2 separate regions of the Homo sapiens genome follow, and region 1 is linked to region 2. Evidence: promoter capture Hi-C in human tissues and cell types (Jung and others, 2019). All regions are on one chromosome and are shown on one strand. The core of a region is centred on a gene start or on the middle of the fragment in contact, and the rest is flanking DNA. Distances in the headings are between cores, read along the strand shown. Region 1 has its middle 46 kb from the start of KCNMA1. Region 2 holds the start of KCNMA1 (potassium calcium-activated channel subfamily M alpha 1).

Region 1 (5,880 bases), core at 563-3,062, 45 kb after region 2:
ACTTTTCAGCCTTTTCATTCAGCAGGTATTTTGAGAGGGCCTGTTGTGTGCATGGCCCCGGTCTAAGCAGTAGGTTGGGTAGAGCCGTGAGTGAGGCACACCAAGTCTTACCAGCTTTCTGATTAGCAGAACATTCTAGCAGCCTAGGTTCTTGGATTTCTGAGGGTCCTTGGTGCATTTCTCCAGCTCCTGAGGCCTCGCTCCTGGTTTCTGCTTGGGGGTACTTCCAGCTTCTGAGCCAAAGATACTGAGACCAGCCTTGGGTGGTCTGCCCTTTGCAAAGAAATTCACAGCTCACCAGGGTCAGGGGGTAAATGTGACCAAACCCCAGTCACTCACTGCCTACCTCCCTCTCTGCCCCACAATGGGGATGCTGACGGGGCTGGGCACAATGTAGTGAATTCTTATAATTTATGCTGCCTCAGGATCCATTTTGGTTTTTGTTGTTGGTTTTGTTTTTGTTTGTTTGTTTGTTTGTTGAGATGGAGTCTCGCTCTGTCACCCAGGCTAGAGTGCAGTGGTGCAATCTTGGCTCACTGCAACCTCCATTTCCTGGGTTCAAGTGATTCTCCTGCCTCAGCCTCCCGAGTAGCTGGGATTACAGGTGCCCGTCACCATGCCTGGCTAATTTTTGTATTTTTAGTAGACACAGGGTTTCACCATGTTGCCCAGGCTGGTCTCGAACTCCTGACCTCAAGTGACCCACCCTCGGCATCCATTTTAAATATAAGCTTACTTTTCTCACACCAGAAGCAGGGCTCAGTTATCCTTGACACAGTCTCTCCTGCTACACCTCCCCGCCGTCCTTCAATGTCATACACAGCTGCTCCCTGGTGCTCACCTCCCCACGGGACAGCTAGAGACAACCTATTCAGCCCGCTAACTTTCACCCCCTACACAGACTGCAGATATGCCACAGTGACCCCCTCTCAGTCACAGCATGACCTCCTGGAACTCATGCCTGCTTGCTCTTTTGCATTTAAACCCACCAATTAAAATTCCCTATGGGAAATGTGCATGGATAATGCCCTGGGCTTCAATAAAAGCCCTGATGCATAGGGGGCCCCCCACTTTCTCTTTCTTTGTGCACCCCCTGATCATTCCCTCTCTGTTGTGGAGGAGGGGCTCTAGGCATGCCGTGAACTTCCCAAGACCTGTAAGTAATAAAACCTTTATTTCTATCTTGTGTCTCTCCTAATCGTTGAAGGGGCAACCTCTATTATAAAGACCTGAAATTAAAACACATGGGAAGCAGTGGCTCTGAGCTTGGGGAGCCAGGTTCCTGACTGTCAAGCCCTTGCCACAGCCAAGAGGTTGCTCAGGGGCTGCCAGGGGTGGGTGCAGATTCCCACACAGTTACCTAGGAGAAAGGCATCAAGAGGGATAGAAGGAATGTACTCCGGGAAGGCCAGCTTCAAGGGCATGAGGTCATGAGCCACCCAGACTGAGGACAGCCCTATGGGGACAGACAGATGACAGAGTGGGTCCTGAAAAACTGTTCTTGTATCCACTGTAATGGGCTGGCTAGCTTGTGGCCAACCCAAATTTCTCAGGCATGCACCAAGAAGAATGGACCCAATGAATAAAAGCTGTGGCAGCCAGATCTCAGAGCACAAAATCCAACTCATGCCAAATTCATATCCGCTGTACATTTAGAAGGACCATAGCATCGCAGTCAAGATCATAAGCATTGCGGCCGCTTGCCTGGGTTCAGATTCTGGCTTTACCACCTGCTAGCTGTGTGATTCTGGACAAGTTACTTAACCTCTCTGTGCCTCAGTTTTCTCATCTACAAAACAGAGATAATAATAATAACTCCCACCTAATAGGGTTGACAGAAGAGAGACAGACCCTCTCATATTGTCTTATATTGTTTTATACTCAGTACCTGTTTTAAGAAAAAACAACAAGGAAGTAAAACCAAAGACAGGCAGCCCGGCGCCAGGCCCGAAACCTGGCTTGGGCCTGCCTGGCCTAAAGCCAGTAGTTAAAAATCAACTCATAACTTAGAAACCGATGTTATTCATAGATTCCAGACATTGTATAGAAGAACATTATGAAACTCCCTGCCCTGTTCTGTTTCTGTCTGACCACCTGTGCATGCAGCCCCTGTCACATACCGCCTGCTTACTCAAATCAATCACGACCCTTTCATGTGAAATCTTTAGTGTTGTGAGCCCTTAAAAGGGACAGAAATTGTGCATTCAGGGAGCTCGGATTTTGAGGCAGTAGCTTGCCGATGCTCCCAGCTGAATAAAGCCCTTCCTTCTACAACTCAGTGTCTGAGAGGTTTTGTCTGTGGCTCGTCCTGCTCCAGGGTTATGGTGAGAATCAAATTGCTATTATATTGTATTAGAACAGTGAACAGCACATAGTCAACGCCACCACATAAGTGGTGTTGCTACTTCTTTGTGACAATCACCCCTTATTTTATGTAGCATATAAAGCTTACAAATTCCCTCCAAATTCATTGTTTGAAACACAAACTTGTTGACTTTGTTCATTCATCCACTAGATTGTAAGTGTTATGCAGGTAGGGAAATGTTAGTTGTTTTATTCACTACTGTGTCCTTGAAGCCCATGACAGTGCCTGACACAAAGTAGTTGCTCAATAAATATTTGTTGATTAGATGGATAGATAGATGGGTGGATGAATTCAACAAACATTTATAGAAGCCTATTATATGCCAGGCACTGAGGATTCAAAGGTTAAAAACCGTGGTACTTGCCCTTTGAAAAAGACTTGAATTGACTCATAATTCACTTCTATAATGATGAAATGCATTACTCTGGAATTATCAGCCATGAGAGTGGTGGTACTCAGTGCTGATTTTGCCCCCATAACCTGAGGAACTAGACACAACTCAAGCAGGGATAGTGGCCCTACATCAGGGAGCCTTCCCCCAAAAGGCTGGAGGGAGGGAATGGTAGGCACGTGCCCTGAAAATCACTGTCTTGTTGGCTCTGTTGGCGATATGAATGTCTATCATCTATCTGGTACTATGATGGTTTTTTGTTTTTTTTTTTTTGAGGCAGAGTCTCGCTCTCGCCCAGGCTGGAGTGCAGTGGCGTGATCTTGGCTCACTGCAAGCTCCGCCTCCTGGGTTCACGCCATTCTCCTGCCTCACCCTCCCAAGTAGCTGGGACTACAGGCGCCCGCTACTATGCCCAGCTAATTATTTTGTATTTTTAGTAGAGACGGGGTTTCACCATGTTAGCCAGGATGGTCTTGATCTCCTGACCTCGTGATCTGCCCGCCTCGGCCTCCCAAAGTGCTGGGATTACAGGCGTGAGCCACCACGCCCAGCCCTATGATGGATTTTGTTTTGTTTTTTACTATTGTGTCTTAAATGAACTGGTTCCACATTTCCATGTCATCCTCTCTGCCCTCATCTTTTAAAGTCTATTTAAAAAACAGACTTCCCAAAAAGCTGTGGCCTGAGCTTTTTGTATCATCTATAACACACTGTCCCATACTGTCATTATGTCCAATAGAGTTTTCATACAGTGAATCTGAACAAATCCCTCTCTCCCTAGACACAGTAGGAGGGAATGGTAGAAGATTCCCTTTCCCCACATCATTGCTCCTCTTGTTTTTTGGCATTGTGGGTAAAGCAGGGACTTGGGAATTGAGGCTTGAGTTTAAATTCCAGGTGTGCATTAAGTAAATAAAAATCAAAACTACAAGGAGATACCACTTCACAGTCTCTAGGATGACTGAAACAAAAAGACAGACGATGAGTGTTCGCAAGGATGTAGAGAAGCTGGAACCCTCAGACATTGTTTGTGGGAATGTACAATGCTACAGCTGCATGGAAACCAATCTGACAGTTTCTCAAAAAGTTAAACATGAAGTTACCGTAGGACCCAGGTATATACCACTCCTAGGTATATACCCAAGAGAAATGAGAACATGTACTTCCACACAGAAATCTATACACAAATGTTCATAGCAGTGTTATTCATAATAGCCAAAAAGTGGAAACAATCCAAATGTCAATCAACTGAGGAATGGATAATTAAAACTTGGTATATCCATACGACAGAAGATAATCATTCATCCCTAAAAAGGAATGAAGTTCTGATACATGGATTGACCTTGAAAATATTATGCTAAGTGAAAGAAGCCAGACACAAAAGGCCACATGTGATTCCATTTCTATGAGATGCCCAGAATAGGCCAATTCACAGAGACAGAAAGGAGATAGTGGTTTCCAGAAGGAAAGCCATCCCCAAAATGCATCTGGTTTAAACATGGTCATCTTATTAAGTTCTTACCATAGCCTGGAAAAAAAAATACAATTCTATTTAAAACTCACCAGGGATTGCCTGGTTAAAGGATTCATTATAGAAACTCTTCCTGTGTTAAGAGCATAATTACCTACTAATTTACCTTCCACTCCTCCGGCCTAATTTTCCCATCATGAACTTGTTTCAAGCCAGCTGTTGCTGTATTCTGACATAGGTGCTGTGCTTAGTATGAGTGGGCATCATGCTGCTGACCGCCTGCTGGTGAAAACGTTTCAAAGCATTCTGCCAAGTTTTAAACAAAGCCTCAAATGAAACCTGCCTCTCTGACTGTATCACTCTCAGTGATAAATTGGCTTCCCCCACCCCCCCCCACCTTCTTTTGAAGGTGTCCCTGAACGAAATCAAATAATAACAGGCTCCATCTCAAAAGCCCAAGTAAGGAGGCAGACAATAATCTTTCATCAGAATCCTATTTTTCAAACCAACATTTAGCCTGCATAAAGCTCTCAATGGGGCAAGACCCGGAAGCAGGGTGATGGGGAGAAGAGCAAGGCCCAGAGGACAGTTTGGAGGCAGAAGCTCAATAGTGGAGTGTACTCCTCCTGCCAGGCCGACAGGTGCTTCCCGTGGAAGGAGCTGATGCCAGCATGAACCCCTTCCCTTCCCTGGATGATGGCTGGTGAAAGGCAACGCCTGACAAATCCTCCAGGAATAGAAGAATCCTGTAGGGGCCAATGGATTGAATGGAAGGAATGCTACAGCACCAAGGAGCCTAGCAATTGTTCTCCAACCAGAAAACTTGTTTTACAAATTGGGGAACAGCATTTGTGGTGAGGAAAGGGAGAGTCTTCCCCCCAGGCCACAGGAGATGGCAGGGAAAGAAACAATCAAGAGCTAAGCCACCTGTGGGGATTTGTAGTGGGGCCCACAAGGGCCATTAGCGGGAAACACAGTGCGAGGCTGTTTACCTCTCAGTTCATCCCCAAGCCTTCTGATTGTCTTAAAGAAAAAGCCTTATTTGGAGGTGGTCTCTCTTTAGGATTGAACATTTGCTATCTCAATTTTGACATGGACCACGACACCGGCAGTAGTTCCAAGCTAGGATGAACACTGGTTGAGTTTGCTGTGGTGGGTGTAGTGATTGTTAAGGGTTATCCTCTATTTATGATTCATGATTATTCTTTCTTTCCCTTATGATATTGATTTCAAGTTTTCCTTAATCATATAGCTATTTGTGTCCAAAACGTGGTCACAGATAGGTCAAAAATCTGAAAGAGGAGTGAGAAACACTAATCTAGTCGAAACCTATACTAATGGTGTGAATCGCCAATCCATTCCTCTTTTGAAACACACACACACACACACACACACACACACACGCACGCACGCTCTCAAGGGGCCTTTACCCAGTGAACCAAAAAGGTTTCCCTTTCCACATGTGTTCCATGAGGAGATTCCCTGCCTATCACTTTCTTGCCTTGCCAAGGTGCATTTTCATGGATCCCTGTGTTCTCCCTGCTGCCAGAAGTGTCCCTGGTCCCCTCCCATACTGAGCCTGCTTCCTCCCCATCAGCTTCAGGAACGCTGCTCCCTCCTGCAACTCTGGGGGTCAGCTCCCAGTTGCATCCT
Region 2 (6,199 bases), core at 635-3,134:
TTCCCCCCTGGTGTTTTCATAGCCAGCCTTCACCCATAGCCCCAGGCTTCCCTACTTCTCTCAGCCGCCAAGGAGGCTGCTACAAGTTGCTGTGCCCTGTAGAAGTTTGAGGGGTCCTCGGTTTAACTTTACTAGAAAAGATGTGAACATGTGGAGGCTGCAATGTGTATCTACCCTGCACTATTCCCCTGGATTTCCCTTCCCTCCAAAACGGTTCGCGCGTGAAGTCCCCTAGGATGGGAATTACTCAGAAAGAAGGCAGCTGGCTCACTCTCTTTTTTCCAGTTCTTTCTTTTTTATTCTGCAGTTTTCTATCAGTGTCGGGTCCCCCACTCCAGCCAGTGGCTGTGGGGAAGGGAAGACATCTCTAGGGACACGACTACAGACCAGGCAGTGAGCCTAGCAACCATACATCGAAGGTGTCGCCAGCCTCAGTGCCGGTGGGCGTCTGCACCAGGAATAGCTAAAGCCGACGACATCTAGCCACCTCGAGCGCCAGGGAAGACGCTCCGCGTAAAACCGCGGCCTCAGGCGGACTCCCGCTCCAGCTCCGCGCTGCTGGTGGCATTTCCGGGGACCCAAAGTGGGTGGCCTGGGGGCAAAGGAACAGAGGCCGAAGAACTTGGGGTATGTTCCACTAGAGCACCTAAGGGACGGAGTGGGAGGTTACATCAGATATGCGACCTCGACACATTCCAAAAGTGGCAGCCCCGTGGGCTACCCCCAATAGTGGGATGGATCTCCCCAACTTCTCTCGCCCCTCGAAGTCCCCCTGTTATCTCGGGCCATGCTCCTCCCCCGGGATTCCCTTGTGCAAAATTATTCTCTCCCTTGCCCAAAGGATTTTTCCCTTCTTTCTGACCCCACGAACTCATCTCCCCAACAGGTTCCTAAAGTATGGGCGGATGTGCTCCCTCTCGCCCACCGCCAGGAGCCGAGCCCCGGCAGGTGAGCGGTGCAAAACACGCACCCAGCTGCCCCCAGCTTCCTCCGTCCCCGCTGAGTTGGCTGTCCCCACCCCGCACCACGGCACCCGAGCCTGTGAGTCCCCGACCCCGGCCCCAGCCGCAGCCGCCAACAACCCTACAATAAACAAGAGGACAGGATTGAGCGTCCGCGTCCCGGAGCGCACTGGCTGGGGGCAACTCCTCACCCCCGGCGCGCCGCCCGCTGCCCCGATCCGAGAGCACCGGGAGAGCCGAGGGAAGGGAAGGCGGCGAGGGGAAGGCAGGCGGGGATGGAGGGAGGCACGGCGCGGCGCGGAGCGAGGAGGTGGGCTGCAGGGGACGCCGAGAAGCGGTGGGGCTGGCGCAGAGGGCGGGCGCCCGGGGCGCGCGTTACCTTCGTCTTGCCCCCGCAGTGGCAGCACACGGTCCACAGGTACTTGAGCGTCCGCCAGAGCAAGATGATGAAGAGGCCCCCGAAGAAAGTCACCATGGAGGAGGCCAGGAAAGCCCACCACATGCGTTGGCCCCGGCTGTCGCACGGCACCTCCATGGTCACCGGGATGATGAGCGCATCCATCTTGGGCTCGTGGACCGAGGACGAGGAGGAAGAGGAGGAGGAAGAAGAAGAAGAGGAAGAGGAGGAGGAGGAGGAGGAGGACGCGTCTAGGCTGAGATGGTTCGCGTGGATATTGCTACTCATTCTAAGACTGCTGCCTCCGCCGCCGCCGCCGCCGCCGCTGCTGCCGCCGCCGCCGCCGCCACCATTTGCCATAGCTAGCAACGGGCAGCCGGCGCAGGGGCTCGGGGGAGCTCCTCCCGCCGCCAGCGCCACCCCAAACACCCATCAACAGCCATATTGCTGCTACTGCTGCCGCCGCCGCCGCCGCCGCGGAGCGCGGGAGGGGGGCGGGGAGGCGCCTGGGCTCGGGGCGCTGTGCGCGACCTGGCGGGGTGCGCCGAGATATATACAGCGAGCCGCCGCCGCCCGCCCGGGGGGGAGGGGGATGGAGTGCGCGGGCAGCTCCCCCTCCCCGGCCCGCGCCCCGCTCGCCCCGGGCTGCGCTGGCCCCGAGCGCCGAGAGCCAGGGGGCGCCGCGGGCCGCCCGCGCCCGGGGTCTGCGCCGCCCCCGGGCCCGCCCCGGCTCCGCGCGCGGTCCCGGGTGTCCTCGGCGCCGCGCCGCCCGCCGTGCGCCACGGGTGTGCGCTGCGCTCGGCCGGTGACCCCCTTCCCCGAGCGCCTCCCGCGCGGCTAACGAGCCGCTCTCCGCTTATTAGGTGGTAACTCGTTAATAATGGATAATCGGCCCCCTCCGCCCGGGCGCCCCTGCGCCAGCCCTCCTCCCCCGGCTGCGCTCGGCTCCGGCTCGCCGCGCCAGTGCGCGCCCGGCCGCGGCAGGTTCACCGCGTCCGGCCGCCGGCCCGTGGCCGCCTGCTAGCCCATGTTCTCGGGACCCCCTAGTCCTGTCGCCACGCCGCTGAGCCCCTCGGCCTCCGCTCGCTCTTCCTCCTTGCCGCCTCCGACTCCTCCTCGTCCCCGTCCTCGCCGCCCAAGCCTCTTCGGCGCGCGCCCCGCGCTCCCCGCAGCCGCCAGCAGCAGCAGCTGCAGCAACTGGAGCGGGCGCGGACTCAGGACGACCCAGGCGGGAGGGGAGGAGGCTCGCCGCGCTGGCTCGCCTGGGCTCCGGGCTGGGCAGGGGTGGGCAGGGCCCCTCGGCAGCGGCCCGGCAAGCGCCCCTGACCCCCAGGGCGCAAGGTAGAGCGCCCCCAGCCCAGGCGCGGGGCCAGGCGCCTCTCTCCAAGGTGCTGCGCCCCCAGCCGAGAGCGGTGGGGTACACTGGGAGGACGGCGGGGCGCCCCGGTCAGGCCGTTTTTTTCCCCAAAGAGCCCCCAGTGGGGAGGGGAGGAGTGGCCAGCTGTCAACTGGATTCCACAGGCTGAGCTCCCCAGGACCCTCGGGCTTCGGGAGTGAGGAGGACCCCACGCCAGGATACACACAGCTACCCACCCCTACTTCGCTCTTCCTGCTACCTATGTGCCCAGGGTCCCGCGTGTGGCTGGAGGGTAGAGTCAGGAAGGCCAGCGGGTGGTCTGTGGCCTCTGACAGCAGCAGGTGGTTTCTCTCCTTTTTCCTTATTAGCAACAGAGGCTGCCCAACAAAGAGTAGGCAGAAATGATCAAGGACGACCTGGCCTGGGGATAGTGCAGGCCCCGATAGACAATAGAGTTCCCTGAAGGGTTGCTTTCCTCTCATATAGTCTCAGACTCCATCCATCCCGTGAGGAGGGCAGATGGGGGAAGAGGGACTCCAGACTTCATTCTGGCTCACCGTTCCCCATTTAGGGTCTTCCCTTCTCCCCACTTAAGATGAAGAAGGAGTCCGTGTTTGTTCCGTAGCGTGTCTCCGTACACCACCAGGGGAATCCCCCTTCTGACACTTTCAGAAACTTTGCGCCCCCTGAACAGCGTCCGTCCTCGTGCTACCAGCTGGACCCCAAGTTTTTCCAGCGCTAATTAAATCGAGGATGATCACGCTCTTCCCTCATTGCTGCAGTGGTTTCCCCAAAGTTTCCAGCTCATTAGTTTAAGCCTAATTGGAATTCTCAGGTTCCTTTCAGCTCTTCCCATGGAAAAGGCCCAAGTTAGCATCCTTAGCTTTACACCTGAGGCTGTCTCCGTGAGAGTCAGATCAGCCCTGCCCTTGTCCTTGGAGGTCTCTGGAAGGAAGAGCGAGCAAGGGAGGCTGAGCTGGGCAGAGAGGCTGAAGAGGATGTTTGAAGCTTCTCTCTTGCTTGATTCGGAATACATTCATTGGGTTTAGAGTACACATCCACTAAGAAAGAGTCAAGGCCAAAGTCAAAGGAGAAAATGGAATGAGGTAAGAGTTCTTGAGTATTTGGTTCTCAAAAAGAAGTGTATGTAAAAGGGAGCTGCAGAAAGTGTGCTCCAGAAAATGGAATTGTCTGAGCCTCCTCTCCATACCATCCCATAGTACCTCCAACCTCGGCCTCTGTGTTCAGCCACTCTGAATGCATCCCTGCCACACCAGACCCAAGCATGCAAAGGCCCTGGGCCTTTTCTGGTACTGGGTTGGGGGAGCGGGACCCAGAAGTGCTGTGGGGATGCGCAGGAAGGTGACTATGGCATTGAGGTTCCTTTATTAGCCTCTCAATGGCTGTAGTTTGCTGCTTTTGTGCCTCAGCAATGCCAAGAAAGTTAAGGACATTCCTTAAATCAAGGCCAAGATTTGAAATTTAAAAATAAAACACCCAGAACATAAAAAGGGCAGCAAAGGATAGGACTGTCTCCCCAGTGGGATATGAAACCTCCAGAATGGATTCCCTCACCCACAAAATTGAAATTTTGCAAACCAGCAAATCCCCTCTGGGGCCTTCTTAGACATTCCCTACAGCCTGGATTCCCCTGAAATGCCAGTCTGGGGTCTACTGGTAAGCAGCCGATGGCCGTGACTTCTGTCACCCCAACTGCAGGATCTATAGCTTTTTCTCCTCCATCATCACCTTCATCACCTCAGCATCTTTGGAGAGGGTGCTTGGAGGCCCCTCAGATGCCATCTCCTGCTCTCTTCATCACCCCTGCCTCTGCTGATTGAAGCTTTTAGCAACTTCTGTGCTGTCCAAAGCCTCGGCTTAGTCAGGAATCATCAGAAACTCTCAGTGTTGATGTCAATATCCTTTCCTTCCTACAATCCCCAGTCTCTCACCTCCTCCCTGAATGGCCTGGCTGGTAAGCACTGAGAGAGTGCTACCATCCACCAGAAATAGACATTCCCAGGCCTTTGCCCAGTTCTCTCTGGCCATTTCCACATTGTTCACAAACTTTTGCACCACTTCCAGAAAACTTGGCCCCTGGCATTACAAATTTAGGAAAAGGCTCTGCACAGACAGAACCTCAAACTTAAAAGGAACCTTAGGTATCTTTGATTTGATGTGTTTCTTCATTTATACAATCAAAATAAAGCCAGAAACTTCCCTGCCTACCTCGAAGGGTTATATGTGAGGATGAAAAAGAAGGCTGGGCATGGTAGCTCACTCCTGTAATCCCAGCACTTTGGGAGGCTGAGGCGGTGGGATCACCTGAGGTCAGGAGTTCAAGACCAGCCTGGCAAACGTGGTGAAACCCCATCTCTACTAATAATACAAAAATTAACTGGGCATGGTGGCACATGTCTGTAATCCCAGCTACTCGGGAGGCTGAGGTATAAGAATCGCTTGAACTCGGGAGGCGGAGGTTGCAGTGAGCCGAAATTGCACCACTGCACTCCAGTCTGGATGACAGAGTGAAACTGTCAGAAAGAAGAAAGAAAGAAAAGAAAGAAAAAAGAAAAAGGAAGGAAGGAAATATTATACAGATCTTAACTATAATTACTGTGACCCCAAAAATGGACAGGCAAGTCTAACCAGATCTTCTGACCCCTGAGCTCGTAATTGTATGTGCACATGCCTGCATGTCATGCTGTCCACAGCATGTCCACAGCCAGACTGTGGCCAGACTCCAGGGCACAGCAGAGCCCCTCCAGCCTAAATGAGCTCTCTGACTACCCAACACCACTCCTTTTCTTGCCAGTCCCTGGACAGCCTTGGAAATGGGAAAGGTATAGAGAAGCACTCTAAGCCCAGCACATCTTCCCCTAATGTAGGTGTGTCTGCAGGCTGGAAATTGAGGTCCATTGCACAAGAACTGAAAGTCTCAACAGAAGTAGAAACTTCACCCTCTGTTCTGAAAACACCACGAGCCTTATTTTTATTTCTAAATTCATTCAAAAGCTTCCCAGAGAGAAGGGCAGCCTCTGTACCATGTGCATGTGTGTCTATGGCAGCTCTCAAAGCAAATCAGAGGTTTCAAGCTTAAATATTCTAATCTGAACAGTCCTAACTGATTTAAAAGAAGTAAAAGGAAGTGCATAAACATACATACTAAAAAAGCAGAGTGACTAAGGTAAAAGGAGAACAAAAAAGATTATTTGCTAAAATGTTGGCCAGCATCGCAATTAATGTGCAATGGATTTTCTTTTCCTCCAACCTGGACCTAGTTCCAATACTCTGACATCAATCTTCGCGATTTTGCGATGGAGAAGCCAGGTGGTGACTCTTTAAATGATCTAGCGCCCTCTGGTGGATTTTCCTGGCACATGACATTATTTCATGAATGTTCAAAAAAGGGACTTAATTTAACAGTCTGAAATTTGAGATATGAAAATTCCAAGAGGAAAACCCTGCTGGAAAAAAAAAACT

The links. The method cuts DNA at HindIII sites, captures the fragments that hold promoters and counts their contacts. A contact is called where the count stands out against the background at its distance.
Region 1: a fragment that was not itself captured here is called in contact with the fragment with the promoter of KCNMA1 in region 2 in 1 of the 25 tissues and cell types used here (bladder).

Annotation. Positions count from the first base shown.
Region 1 is chr10:77,681,173-77,687,052 of GRCh38, forward strand. No RefSeq gene overlaps it. Among named protein-coding and RNA genes, the nearest start is that of KCNMA1, 46 kb to the left of the region's middle. The HindIII fragment of the contact is 5,183 bases long and covers 1-4,404 here.
Region 2 is chr10:77,635,924-77,642,122 of GRCh38, forward strand. It overlaps KCNMA1 (potassium calcium-activated channel subfamily M alpha 1), which reads right to left and starts at 1,885. Exons shown (of 28, transcript NM_001161352.2): 1 at 1,342-1,885. The coding sequence starts at 1,719. The HindIII fragment of the contact is 5,846 bases long and covers 1-4,141 here.